2 separate regions of the Homo sapiens genome follow, and region 2 is linked to region 1. The links are contacts of gene promoters, found by promoter capture Hi-C in human tissues and cell types (Jung and others, 2019). All regions are on one chromosome and are shown on one strand. The core of a region is centred on a gene start or on the middle of the fragment in contact, and the rest is flanking DNA. Distances in the headings are between cores, read along the strand shown.

Region 1 (5,979 bases), core at 1,643-4,142:
GGAGTTCAAGACCATCCTGGCCTATCTGATGAAACCCCTTGTCTACTAAAAATACAAAAATTAGCCAGGCGTGGTGGCGCATGCCTGTAGTCCCAGCTACTCGGGAGGCTGACGCAGGAATCACTTGAACCCAGGAGGCAGAGGTTGCAGTGAGCCAAGATTGTGCCACTGAACTCCAGCCTGGTGACAGAGTGAGACTGTCTCAAAAAAAAAAAAAAATTAATTAATCGAAAAAAAAGGAAGCTTTCAAAAGATTAGGAAATTGCAGGAATGCATGGGAAAAAGAGAATGGCCATTGGTCCTGTTATCTAGTGCAACTTGATAAACCACTCCAAACCGTAGAGCTTAGAACAACAATTATTTTATTATCTATTCGTCATTTTTTAATATTTATTTTATTTACTTAGAGATCCTGTCTCTTTGTTACCCAGGCTGAAGTGCAGTGATACCATATTGGCTCACTGCCACCTCTGCCTCTTGGGCTCCAGCGATCCTCCTGCCTCAGCCTTCCAAGTAGCTGGAACCCCACAGCGCGGCACCACACCTGACTAATTTTTGTATTTTTAGTAGAGAGGGTGTTTCACTACGTTGCCCAGGCTAGTCTCGAACTCCTGGGCCCAAGGGATCCATCCGCCTCACTTCCTAAACTTCTGGGATTACAAGCGTGAGCCACCGCACCTGGCCTATTATTGTTTTGTTAAAAGCAGGGTCTCGGCTTTGCAAATGCAGCCACCGACGCCAGGAGCTCTGTACGATCAGCCATGGTTAACCCCACCGTGTTCGACATCGCTGTCGACGGCAAGCCCTTGGGCCGCGTGTCCTTCGAGCCGTTTGCAGACAAGGTTCCAAAGGCAGCAGAAAACTTTCGTGCTCTGAGCAATGTAGAGAAAGGATTTGGTTATAAAGGTTCCTGCTTTCACAGAATTATTCCAGGGTTTATGTGTCAGGGTGGTGACTTCACATGCCATAATGGCACTGGTGGCAAGTACACCTGCGGGGAGAAATTTGATGACGAGAGCTTCGTCCTAAAGCATACACATCCTGGCATCTTGTCCATGGCAAATGCTGGACCCAACACAAATGGTTCCCAGTGTTTCATCTGCACTGCCAAGACTGAGTGGCTGGATGGCAATCCTGTGGTCTTTGGCAAGGTGAAAGAAGGCATGAATATTGTGGAGGCCATGGGGCACTTTGGGTCCGAGAATGGCAAGACCAGCAAGAAGATCACCATTGCTGACTGTGGACAACTCTAACAAGTTTGGCTTTTGTTTTATCTTAACCACCAGACCATTCCTTTTGTAGCTCAGAAGAGCACCCCTTCACCCCATTTGCTTGCAGTATTTTTTTTTTTTTTTTTTTTTGAGACGCTGTCTCACCCTGTCGCCCTCTCCCAGGCTGAAGTGCAGTGGCACGATCTCGGCTCACTGCAACCTCCACTTCCCGGGTTCAAGCAATTCTCTTTCCTCAGCCTCCCGAGTAGCTGGGACTACAGGCGCACGCCGCCATGCCTGGCTAATTTTTTCTTTCTTTCTTTCTTTCTTTTTTTTTTTTTTTTTGTATTTTAGTAGAGACGGGGTTTCACCATGTTGCCCAGGCTGATCTTGAACTCCTGAGCTCAGGCAATCTGCCTGCCTCGGCCTCCCAAAGTGCTAGGATTACAGACGTGAGCCACCACGCCCGGCCTGCTCGCAGTATCTTATCTTTGTGCTCTTGCTGCAGTTCCCTTTGGGTTCCATGTTTTCCTTGTTCCTTTCCATGCCTAACTGGATTGCTGAGTTAAGTTTATGATTATGAAATAAAAACTAAATTAAAAAAAAAAAACAGGGTCTCACTCTGTCGTCTAGGCAGGAGGAGTGCAGTGGCCCGATCATAGCTCACTGCAGCCTCGAACTCCTGGGCTCAAGCGATCCTCCCGTTTCAGCCTCCTGAGCAGCTGGGACTACAGGCACACACTACCATGCCCAGCTAATTTTTACTTTTGTAGAGACTGGAGGCTCTCTCGCACAGGCTGGTCTTGAACGCCCGGTTTCAAGCAATCCTCCCACCTCGGCTTCCCAAATTGCGGAGATTACAGGCATGAGCCACCATGCCCAGCCGCCCCCAGTTTTGATGGCTAAAGTTAACGTGAGTGGCCCTGTTACAAATAGGAAGTCCCGGGCCGGGCGCGGTGGCTCACGCCTGTAATCCCAGCACTTTGGGAGGCCGAGGCGGGCGGATCACGAGGTCAGGAGATCGAGACCATCCTGGCTAACACAGTGAAACCCCCGTCTCTACTAAAAATACAAAAAAATTAGCCGGGCATGGTGGCAGGCGCCTGTAGTCCCAGCTCCTCGGGAGGCTGAGGGAGGAAAATGGCGTGAACCCGGGAGGCCGAGCTTGCAGTGAGCCGAGATCGCGCCACTGCACTCCAGCCTGGGCGACGCAGAGCGAGACTCCGTCTCAAAAAAAACAAAAAACAAACAACAACAACAACAACAACAAAAACAAATAGGAAGTCCTGGCAACCCCTGCAGGGGCATTCGGTGATTTTTTTCACTAGCTAGCCAAAATTGCGGCTCCCAATGAGCTTTCTTTCACCGAATGTACTCGAAGCCAGGTCTTAGACTTACTCCCTGAGGAAAGAGGCTGAGTTGTTCCGTCTGGGTTCCCGGCACCCTGCACTGGGAGGAATACTCAAAAGGCGTTGGTAATGTGTTAATGGACAGAGGGACACACGTGTCGAATGCTCCTCGGTGGCCCCGCCCCCTCCGGCCCGCCTTCCCTCCTCTCCGCTGAGTGTGCTTCCCCTCCGTCATCCATCGCTCGGCGGTCTTCTCTTCTCCATGGGTCTGCTCTGCGCGTTCCATCGAGTTTCTCGGCCATCGCGCGCCTGCGCCATTGGGCTGTCAGTCAGAGGCGGCGTGGAGATCGCTGGGAGCGGTTGCGGCGTGCCGGGAGCTGAGTTATAGCTGTGACTTCTGCCCTGCCAGGCCGCACACAAGCTGGCTGACCCGGGTGAGCAGTGCGGTGGGGCCACTCATCTGAGGGAGGCGGGCATGTCGAACTGGGCCGAGGTGGACCCGAAGGGGTAGGAGAGGGTGCTGAGCCCCGAAGTTGTCAGCTCGACTCCCTGCTCGACCCGGTGTAGCTGTGTCCGAAGTAGAAGGGAGGTTGGGGATGAGAATCCGAGCCAACCACCTTATGCAACAGATGGAGGAACTAAGTTTCTAATCTCAGCTACTCGAGAGTCTGAGGCAGGAGAATCGTTTGAACCCAGGAGGTGGAGGTTGCAGTGAGCCTAATTCGCGCCACTGCACTCCAGCCTGGGCAACATAGTGAGACTCTCCGTTTCAAAAAAAAAAAAAAAAAGAAAAGAAAAGAAAGAAACGAAGTTTCGGGGAGGGTTCTGCTTAAAGTCACAGCGAGTGAGCGAGCACCAGACCGGTACCAGACGCCTTTAGCACTGTGCCTGCACTCTTTCAGCCTCAGCCCTTCATTCATTTGTTCAGCCTGCCTTTAGTTGTTTGGATGCAGGGCAGTGAAATATAGGGAGGAGCAGTGAGGTCTCTGCCTTCAGGCAGCACACGTGGAATGACAGACCAATTCTGATACAGTTTTCTTATCTATTTACAACTGGAAAAGGCATGAGTGCTATGATGCAGGCAAGTCTGAGATGCGGTGAACACCCTCTCCAAAGCTTGGGAGGCAGCGAGACTCGTTGCCATGATTCCCGTCAGCCATAGTCGTGGCAGTGACATGAGCATTTGACAGTCTGCCTGGTAGCATGATTAGTTATGTTCATGATTACTATTCATGCTTCCTAGGTTGCCTTTCTTCACCCAGGGCCTCCTTGAGAGCTGGAACCTCAGTTCCTAGTGACCTGGGTTCTAATGCCCTTATGCACATGTTTGAGTTTGACTCTTATACAGTTGTGAAGTTCACAGGTCCTCATTCCACTTTGATTTCTGGCATCTGACTGGGAATACAGTGATGATGCACACACAGTCCAAGAAAGTCACTCTTACACTCTTATGTAGACATTTAAGAGACATTAATGTTACACTTAAGTAGACATTTAAACACATACGTGCAATGAAACCCGTAAAGGCTAAGAGAATCTGCACATGGCAGAATGGAAGCACTTCGGGAAAAGGAGTCACTTCTGGAGGGGTGGGAACGGTTAGGAATGGCTTTGTAGGCAAGAGGATTCTTGAGCTGTCTTCAAAGTTTAATAGGTGATTACTAGACACAAGAGAAAGGCAGACTAGGAAGCAACAGTAGCAGTGCAGAGACCAGAATTATGAAGCAGCATGGCTCAATTAGTACGAAGGTTTTCCATAATCTAGTCTCTGTCTAGTAAAGCAAATACAAATATAGTGCTTCTCATAAGATGGACATTATTGGCCGGGCGCGGTGGCTCACGCCTGTAATCCCAGCACTTTGGGAGGCCGAGGCGGGTGGATCATGAGGTCAGGAGATCGAGACCATCCTGGCTAACAAGGTGAAACCCCGTCTCTACTAAAAATACAAAAAATTAGCCGGGCGCGGTGGCGGGTGCCTGTAGTCCCAGCTACTCGGGAGGCTGAGGCAGGAGAATGGCGTGAACCCGGGAAGCGGAGCTTGCAGTGAGCCGAGATTGCGCCACTGCAGTCCGCAGTCCGGCCTGGGCGACAGAGCGAGACTCCGTCTCAAAAAAAAAAAAAAAAAAAAGATGGACATTATTTTGTCTGCTTTACGTAGAATAACAAATTTAATCTTAACAACAACTCTGTGAAGTGAAACTATAATTATCCCCATCATAAAATGCAAAAATTGAGGCATAGAAAATTTACGTAGTTTGCCCTAGTTCACACAGCTAATAATAAATAGTAGAGCTAGAATTCAAACCTAGGCATTCTAGCTCTATGGTCTGTGAACCTAACCACCAGGCTTCCTTCTAGAAGCTGAGGACACTGAGAGTTTTAAATGTCAGGCCCCTGATCACACCTATGAGTGTCAGAATCATGACTCAAACTCATCTTTTGACTTTTTTTTTTTGGGACAGGGTCTCACTCTGTTGCCCAGGCTGGAGTGCAGTGGTGTGCAGCCTTAACCTCCCAGGCTCAGGTGATTCTCCCACCTCAGCCTCCCGAGTATCTGGGACTACAGGCATGCGCCACCATACCTGGCTAATTTTTTATAGAGATGGGGTCTCACCATGTTGCCCAGGCTGTTCTAGAATTCCTAGGCTCAAGTGATCCTCTCATCTTGGCCTCCCAAAGTGCTGGGAGCATGAGCCACTGTGCCTGGCGCTCTTTTGGCTCTTTTTTATTTTATTTTATTTTTTTTGAGACGGAGTCTCACTCTGTCGCCCAGGCTGAAGTGCGAGTGGTGTGCTCTCAGCTCACTGCAGCTGCTGCCTCCCGGGTTCCTGTGATTCTCCTGCCTCAGCCACCTGAGTAGCTGGGATTACGGGTGCCTGACACCATGCCTGGCTACTTTTAAAAATGTTTTTGGTAGAGGCCGGGCGCAGTGGCTCATGCCTGAAATCCCAGCACTTTAGGAGGCCAAGGCAGGTGGATCACCTAAGGTTAGGAGTTCAAGACCAGCCTGGCCAACATGGTGAAACCCTGTCTCTACTAAAAATCCAAAGAATTAGCCAAGTATGGTGGCGGATGCCTGTAATCCCAGCAACTTGGGAGGCTGAGGCAGGAGAATCGCTTGAACCTGGGAGGCAGAGGTTGCAGTGAGCCAAGATCATGCCATTGCACTCAACCTGGGGAACAAGAACTCTGTTTCAAAAAAAAAAATTTTTTTTTAGTAGAGACAGAGTTTCACCAAGTTGGCCAGGCTGCTCTTGAACTCCTGACCTCAGGTGATCCGCCCGCCTGGGCCTCCCAAAGTGCTGGGATTACAGGCGTGAGCCACCACGTCCAGCTCATCTTTTGACTCTTAAGGGTCCAGTGCTCTTTTCATAATAACATTTGATGTGGTGGATGTTATATAATACCAAAATGAAAT
Region 2 (5,979 bases), core at 2,492-4,991, 660 kb before region 1:
TCAGGATTCTTGTAGGAGGAAATAAAAACGTAAAATAGATGTTCCGTAAAATCCACAAGGGTACTCAGTTTGAATTGGGAATATCAGTAATAAGTTATGAGGTGTTTTAGCTTTGGAGTGAAAAATACATACTTCTAGGCGGTTCTGTCCACTGAAAAGACATAAAAACAGTGAACAACCCCATAGCAATGAGTGGCTCTACTGCCTGGATTGTGATCTTGAAATAGTTTATCCAGACAGCATACTTAAAAGAAGAGCTTGGAATATTTTTTCAAACTAGATAACAAAGAAGTAAAGAACTACTTAGGGTTGTAGCAAAAGGATTTAGAAGCCAAATTGAAGAGGGTTCCATAGGCCAAACATGGGACAGTTTTATGCATCAATTAATAATAATAACGACGAGGGTTGAATCACATCAAATTGGATTTAAATCTGTGAATTCACAATGATACCTACCTCACCTTAGGAACAAGCATGTATCATATTTTTTCTATATGAACTGTACTGTTGAATTGCCAAATAGGGGAAGTTCCTATTTATGGAAGTATACTACTTTATAAAGAATTGTAAAATTAGATCATTGTTTTTGCATCTTGTATTGAGCTGACAGTTTTAGGCTATGAGCACCAGTGTCTGCCAGCATCACTAAAAGAAGCACAACCACATGTTATTTGTGTGTGTCTCCTAATGGAAGAATACAAAACCACTAAGGATTCTGTAACCTCTAGAACCAACTACCAATTTATAGAAAGAGGCTTAAGATTTTCTAAAAACTAGTAGATTAAAAGCTGAGATTGTTTTTGGAGACAAAACTATAGTGTCAAGGGAGACACAATGGGTTAGTAAAAAAAAAAAATGCAGTGATCACCATAAGTATGAGTAGTTTTGGGGTTTTTTTCTAATGAGATTTGTAATGTCTTTCTGGTTTGTCTGGTAATGTTATGTTGCTTAAACCATGTAGTGTTTAAAAGAACTTTTACCCATTAACTTATTCATTTGTTTTATATTTTTCCTGTTTATATTTTACAAGTTTTAAAACTGTATTTTTTAAAACAGTAGAAAGAGATCAAAGATACTGTATAAATAGGAGCATTGTCTCTGAGAACCCTGGGTACAACATGCCTATTAAAATGAAACAAGGAAACAACCACAGCTTTTATGGCTGGGCACTCCTTCTGCCTCTACCACTCCATCTAGAGGAATGTATTTACCTGTCCTTGAAAATCTGTCACTGATTTGTCCACTTATATAGAGAGTTGGTAGTTTCATTTGCATTTGTGCTTGTTCTCCTATTGTAGTGGTTCTCACCTTGATTGCTTGGAAAATACATACCTGCTAGAGGCCCTGCCCCTGGAGATTCTGATTCTGAAGCTCTGTAGTGGAGCCTGGGTGTCTTTTTGTTGTTTGTATAATGTTCACAGGCAATTGTGCTGAAAAGCCATTTTCCTGCTGGGCACAGTGGCTCATGCCTGTAATCTCAGCACTTTGGGAGGCCAAGGTGAGTGGATCACTTGAGGTCAGTTCGAGACCAGCCTGGCCAGCATGGTGAAACCCTGTCTGTACTAAAAATACAAAAATTAGCTGGGTGTGGTGGTGCGCACCTGTAATCCCAGTTACTCAGGAAGCTGAGACAGGAGAATTGCTTGAACCTGGAAAGTGGAGGTTGCAATGAGCCAGGATTGTGCCACTGTACTCCAACCTGGGCAACAGAGTGACACTCTGTCACAAAAAAAAAAAAAAAAAAAAAAAAAAAAAGCCATTCTCCTACCCTGTTACCAGATCGTAAAGTTTGGGCTAGGACAGCAGTGTCATACGATTAGTTATTAAGTCTAGTCTATTGCTCTTAACTCTTCCCTGCCCTTTCCCTTATCTCGTTCTCTACTTCTGTTACCTTTATTACCCTCCCGGACTATGGAATTGATCTCCTAATGGTCTCTTAGTTGATGTTTAAATACCTCAGATCCATCCTTTAAGCTGCTACTAGAGTGACGGTTGTAAGTTGATAATTAGATAATGTTAACTGCATGAAAGATGGATCCTCATTACCTGTAGAATAAAACTTAATCTCCCCTAAGAAATCCTCCACAAGCTGGCTCTTGCCTGCTTTGCCAGATACCTCTTTCCCCACAGAAGGGTCCCCTCCTTCCCTAGCACTACTCATGCTGAACTATTTGCAGACCTGAATATTCTGTTCTTTTTAATGCTTTCTGTTCCTGGAATTACCGTTTTTCCAGCTTTGGAATTCATCTTTAAGGATTCTTAAATCACCTGTTAGTAAAGCCTTTTCTGATAGCACTTCTCTTTCAAGTAGAATTGATGTTTCTTACTGAGTACTCCTTCTTCCCTAATATGAATTTTTTTCATCGTCCTTGTAACCTTTTATTGTACTTAACTTGTCTAGAAGTTTTTATAGCAAAACTGTGACCCGTGTGAAGACAGGGGCTCTTTATTGTATTTCTAGCACAGTCCTTGGCATATGGTCTGCCCCTGCCCTACACCCATCTTAGAAATGCAGTGAATACTATACATTTCACTGACCACATTGTCCTCCTTTAATCTGAGGAAAATGATCCACATTCTTGTTCATCTAACTTTCAGTGCCTCCTTATTTGGCATACATATCCTATAGGAAAGTGGGAATTCGCACATTTAGTCTGTTTATTTAAAATAAATGAAATCCCTTATATCAAAGGAAATGAAACTCAGGAGAACCTAATATTAACATAATACCTATTGATTTTGTGTTTTGATATTTTCTGTTTGTTACGTTTCTGAATACAGTGTCAAATTAGTAAGTGTTGCTAATATGTAAAATATGTAATTATTTGATAGGTTCCATGGTGATGGCTACTTTGTGAAAAGTGCCAAAATGATCAGCTTTCTGTATCAACCATTCATATCCCTTTTTTCCTAGCCTTCCTTGAATCCAGAAGCTGGCAAACAGCATCAGCCATGCAGACCTATTGGGACACCTTCTGGAGTATGGGGTAGGTAGATTTTGCCATTTTAAAGGCACAACTTTAAAATTTTTTCTTAGCAGGGAGGGGAGCAAAGATTCCTTATCTCTTTTTATCTCTTGTTTCTCATCTCATGCATTTGCCCATGGTAACTAACATCTGACTGTAGCGGGTTATTCTGCCCCCTACCCCACCGCCCAACCCCCAAACACCACTGAAATGTTACCATGGTAGTAGAGTCAAAATACAGACAACTGAGAACTTATAGAACCGTGAATTTGGAAGCAGTTGTTTTGGTGGTGTTTGTTAGTCTGTTTGTTTGAGACAGTCTCATTCTGTTGCCCAGGCTGTAGTGCAGTGGCGCAATCTCAGCTCACTGCAGCCTCCACCTCCCTAGCTGGGACTACACCATGCCTGGCTAATGTTTGTATTTTTAGTCCAGACAGGGTTTTACCATGTTGATCAGGCTTGTCTTGAATTCTTGGCCTCAAGTGATCCACCCATCTTGGCCTCCCAAAGTGCTGGGATTACAGGCATGAGCCACCGTAGCCAACATGGAAGCAGATTTTAAGTAGAAAAAGTTCATGAAAAGTAACTTAATTAACATTGCTACTTCACTTACTTTTTTTTTTTTTTTTTTTTGAGATGGAGTCTCACTCTGTTGCCAGGCTGGAGTGCGGTGGCGAGATCTCAGCTCACTGCAACCTCAGCCTCCCGGATTCAAGCTTTTCTCCTGCCTCAGCCTCCTAAGTAGCTGGGAATACAGGCCTATGCCACCACGCCCGGCTAATTTTTGTTATTTAGTAGAGATGGGGTTTCACCATGTTGGCCACGATGGTCTCGATCTCTTGACCTCATCATCCGCCTGCCTCGGCCTCTCAAAGTGCTGAGATTACAGGCGTGAGCCACCATACCCAGCCCATAACAATATATTCTTAAACATTCATATATATGTATGTTTAAATATTCGTGTGTGTGTGTGTGTGTGTGTGTGTTTATGTGTATGTGTGTGTATATATATGTTTGTGGTTTTTTGTTTTGTTTTGTTTTGTTTTTTGAGACAGAATCTCACTCTGTCGCCCAGGCTAGAGTGCAGTGGTGCGATAGGAATCTGTATTTCAAACCAAACCTCATCTGTGGCATTGGGATCTTTGGCATTTACAAATTGGACTCTCCTGGTTTCTTCATTAGACATGTTGATAGCCAAGAACATGGGAAGTCTTTAACATATCTAAATGATGGGTTTAGAATCCAGTATTGTAGGATTAAGATTGATCGATGTACCTTCTCCTCTTTGCTAATGGTGTATACCTTTGCTCCAGTTTGCCTCATCAGAGGGTTTCATGGCAGACTCCAATCCCTGATTACCTCATCTCTCTATTCTCATGCTGACAGGAGCTGCTACTTTTAGGTGTTTTTTTTTGTTTTGTTTTTGTTTTTTTGAGTTAGGGTCTGACTTTGTCATCCATGCTGGAGTGCAGTGGCACAGTCATGGCTCGCTGCAGCCTCGACCTGGGCTCAAGTGATTCTCCCGCCTCAGCCTCCTAAGTAGCTGGGACCACAGGTGTGCACCACCATGCCTGGCTAATGTTTGTATTTTTTGTAAAGATGGGGATTTGCCACAGGGTTTGCCAGCCCAGGCTGGTCTCGAACTCTTGGGACTCAAGTGATCTGCCCACCTCAGCACCTCCAAGTGCTGAGATTACAGGCATGAGCCACAGTGCCTGGCGCTTGGATTTATTCTTGTTGGGTTCATGCTTAACTGATCACACTGTCCATCAGACATATTGTGCCCCTGAAGGACTGCTAACATCTTTGGACTTCCTGGCTGATTTATAAATTTAGTATCCAGTTCCTCATATGCTGCATTTTTTTGTACAGTTCCTGAGTAGTCTCACTTTTGAGAGTATCTATTAAGTGCATACCAGGGAATGTTTAATCCCTCTGTCTCAACTGTCAGCTGTTTTGTTGACTAAGGCCTTTGTATAAACTATGCTTCATGTTACACAACAGGTTTGACATTCTGTTGTCTCTCCACTCTTGTACTTCACAGAAAACCCGCCTAGTGCCAAGCAACCCTCCAAGATGCTAGTTATCAAAAAAGTTTCCAAAGAGGATCCTGCTGCTGCCTTCTCTGCTGCATTCACCTCACCAGGATCTCACCATGCAAATGGGAACAAATTGTCATCCGTGGTTCCAAGTGTCTATAAGAACCTGGTTCCTAAGCCTGTACCACCTCCTTCCAAGGTATGATTTAGAATCAGGGCAAGAACCTTATACAAGAGAGGTTTGGGAATAAATCAGGAAAAAATTAATAAATTTGTTTTTTCTTGCCGCATCAGTCACCAGATATTCTTTCAGTACCTGTTATATGTATACAGCTTTCTTTGCTTTTTTTTTTTTCTTTTTCTTTATTTTTTTGAGACAAGGTCTCACTCTGTCACCCAGGCTGGAATGCAGTGGCACAATCATGGCTCAGTGTGACCTCAGCCTCCCAAGTAGCTGAAACTACAGGGGCACGCCATTATGCCCGGCTATTTTTTTTATTTATTTTATTTTTTGTTTTGTTTTGTTTTTTTGAGATGGAGCCTCGCTCTGTCACCCAGGCTGGAGTGCAGTGGCACGATCTCAGCTCACTGCAAGCTCCACCTCCTGGGTTCACACCATTCTTCCTCAGCCTCCCGAGTAGCTGGGACTACAGGCGCCCGCCACCACACCCGGCTCGGTGTTTTTTTGTATTTTTAGTAGAGACGGGGTTTCACCGTTGTTAGCCAGGATGGTCTCAATCTCCTGACCTCGTGATCCGCCCGCCTCGGCCTCCCAAGGTGCTGGGATTACAGGCGTGAGCCGCCACGCCCAGCCATTTTTTTTTTTTTTTTTTTAATTATTTTTTGTAGAGACAGAATCTCATTTTGTTGCCCAGGCTGGTCTCTATCTCCTGGCCTCAAGGAATCCTCCTGCCTCAGCCTCCCAGAGCGCTGAGATTATGGGCGTGAGCCACCACACCTGGCCCCTCTGGTTT

Evidence for each region. The method cuts DNA at HindIII sites, captures the fragments that hold promoters and counts their contacts. A contact is called where the count stands out against the background at its distance.
Region 2: a contact is called between a fragment that was not itself captured here and the fragment with the promoter of EIF2B3 in region 1, in 1 of the 25 tissues and cell types used here (spleen).

The regions. Positions count from the first base shown.
Region 1 is chr1:44,983,508-44,989,486 of GRCh38, reverse strand. EIF2B3 (eukaryotic translation initiation factor 2B subunit gamma) reads left to right here and starts at 2,892. Exons shown (of 12, transcript NM_020365.5): 1 at 2,892-2,994. It also overlaps the pseudogene PPIAP35. RefSeq lists enhancers at 2,549-2,598, 2,309-2,890, 2,849-3,118 and a silencer at 2,669-2,758. The HindIII fragment of the contact is 6,221 bases long and covers 1-5,919 here.
Region 2 is chr1:45,639,435-45,645,413 of GRCh38, reverse strand. GPBP1L1 (GC-rich promoter binding protein 1 like 1) reads left to right here. Exons shown (of 13, transcript NM_021639.5): 7 at 2,915-2,987; 8 at 5,011-5,204. Among named protein-coding and RNA genes, the nearest start is that of CCDC17, 18 kb to the right of the region's middle. The HindIII fragment of the contact is 4,098 bases long and covers 1,693-5,790 here.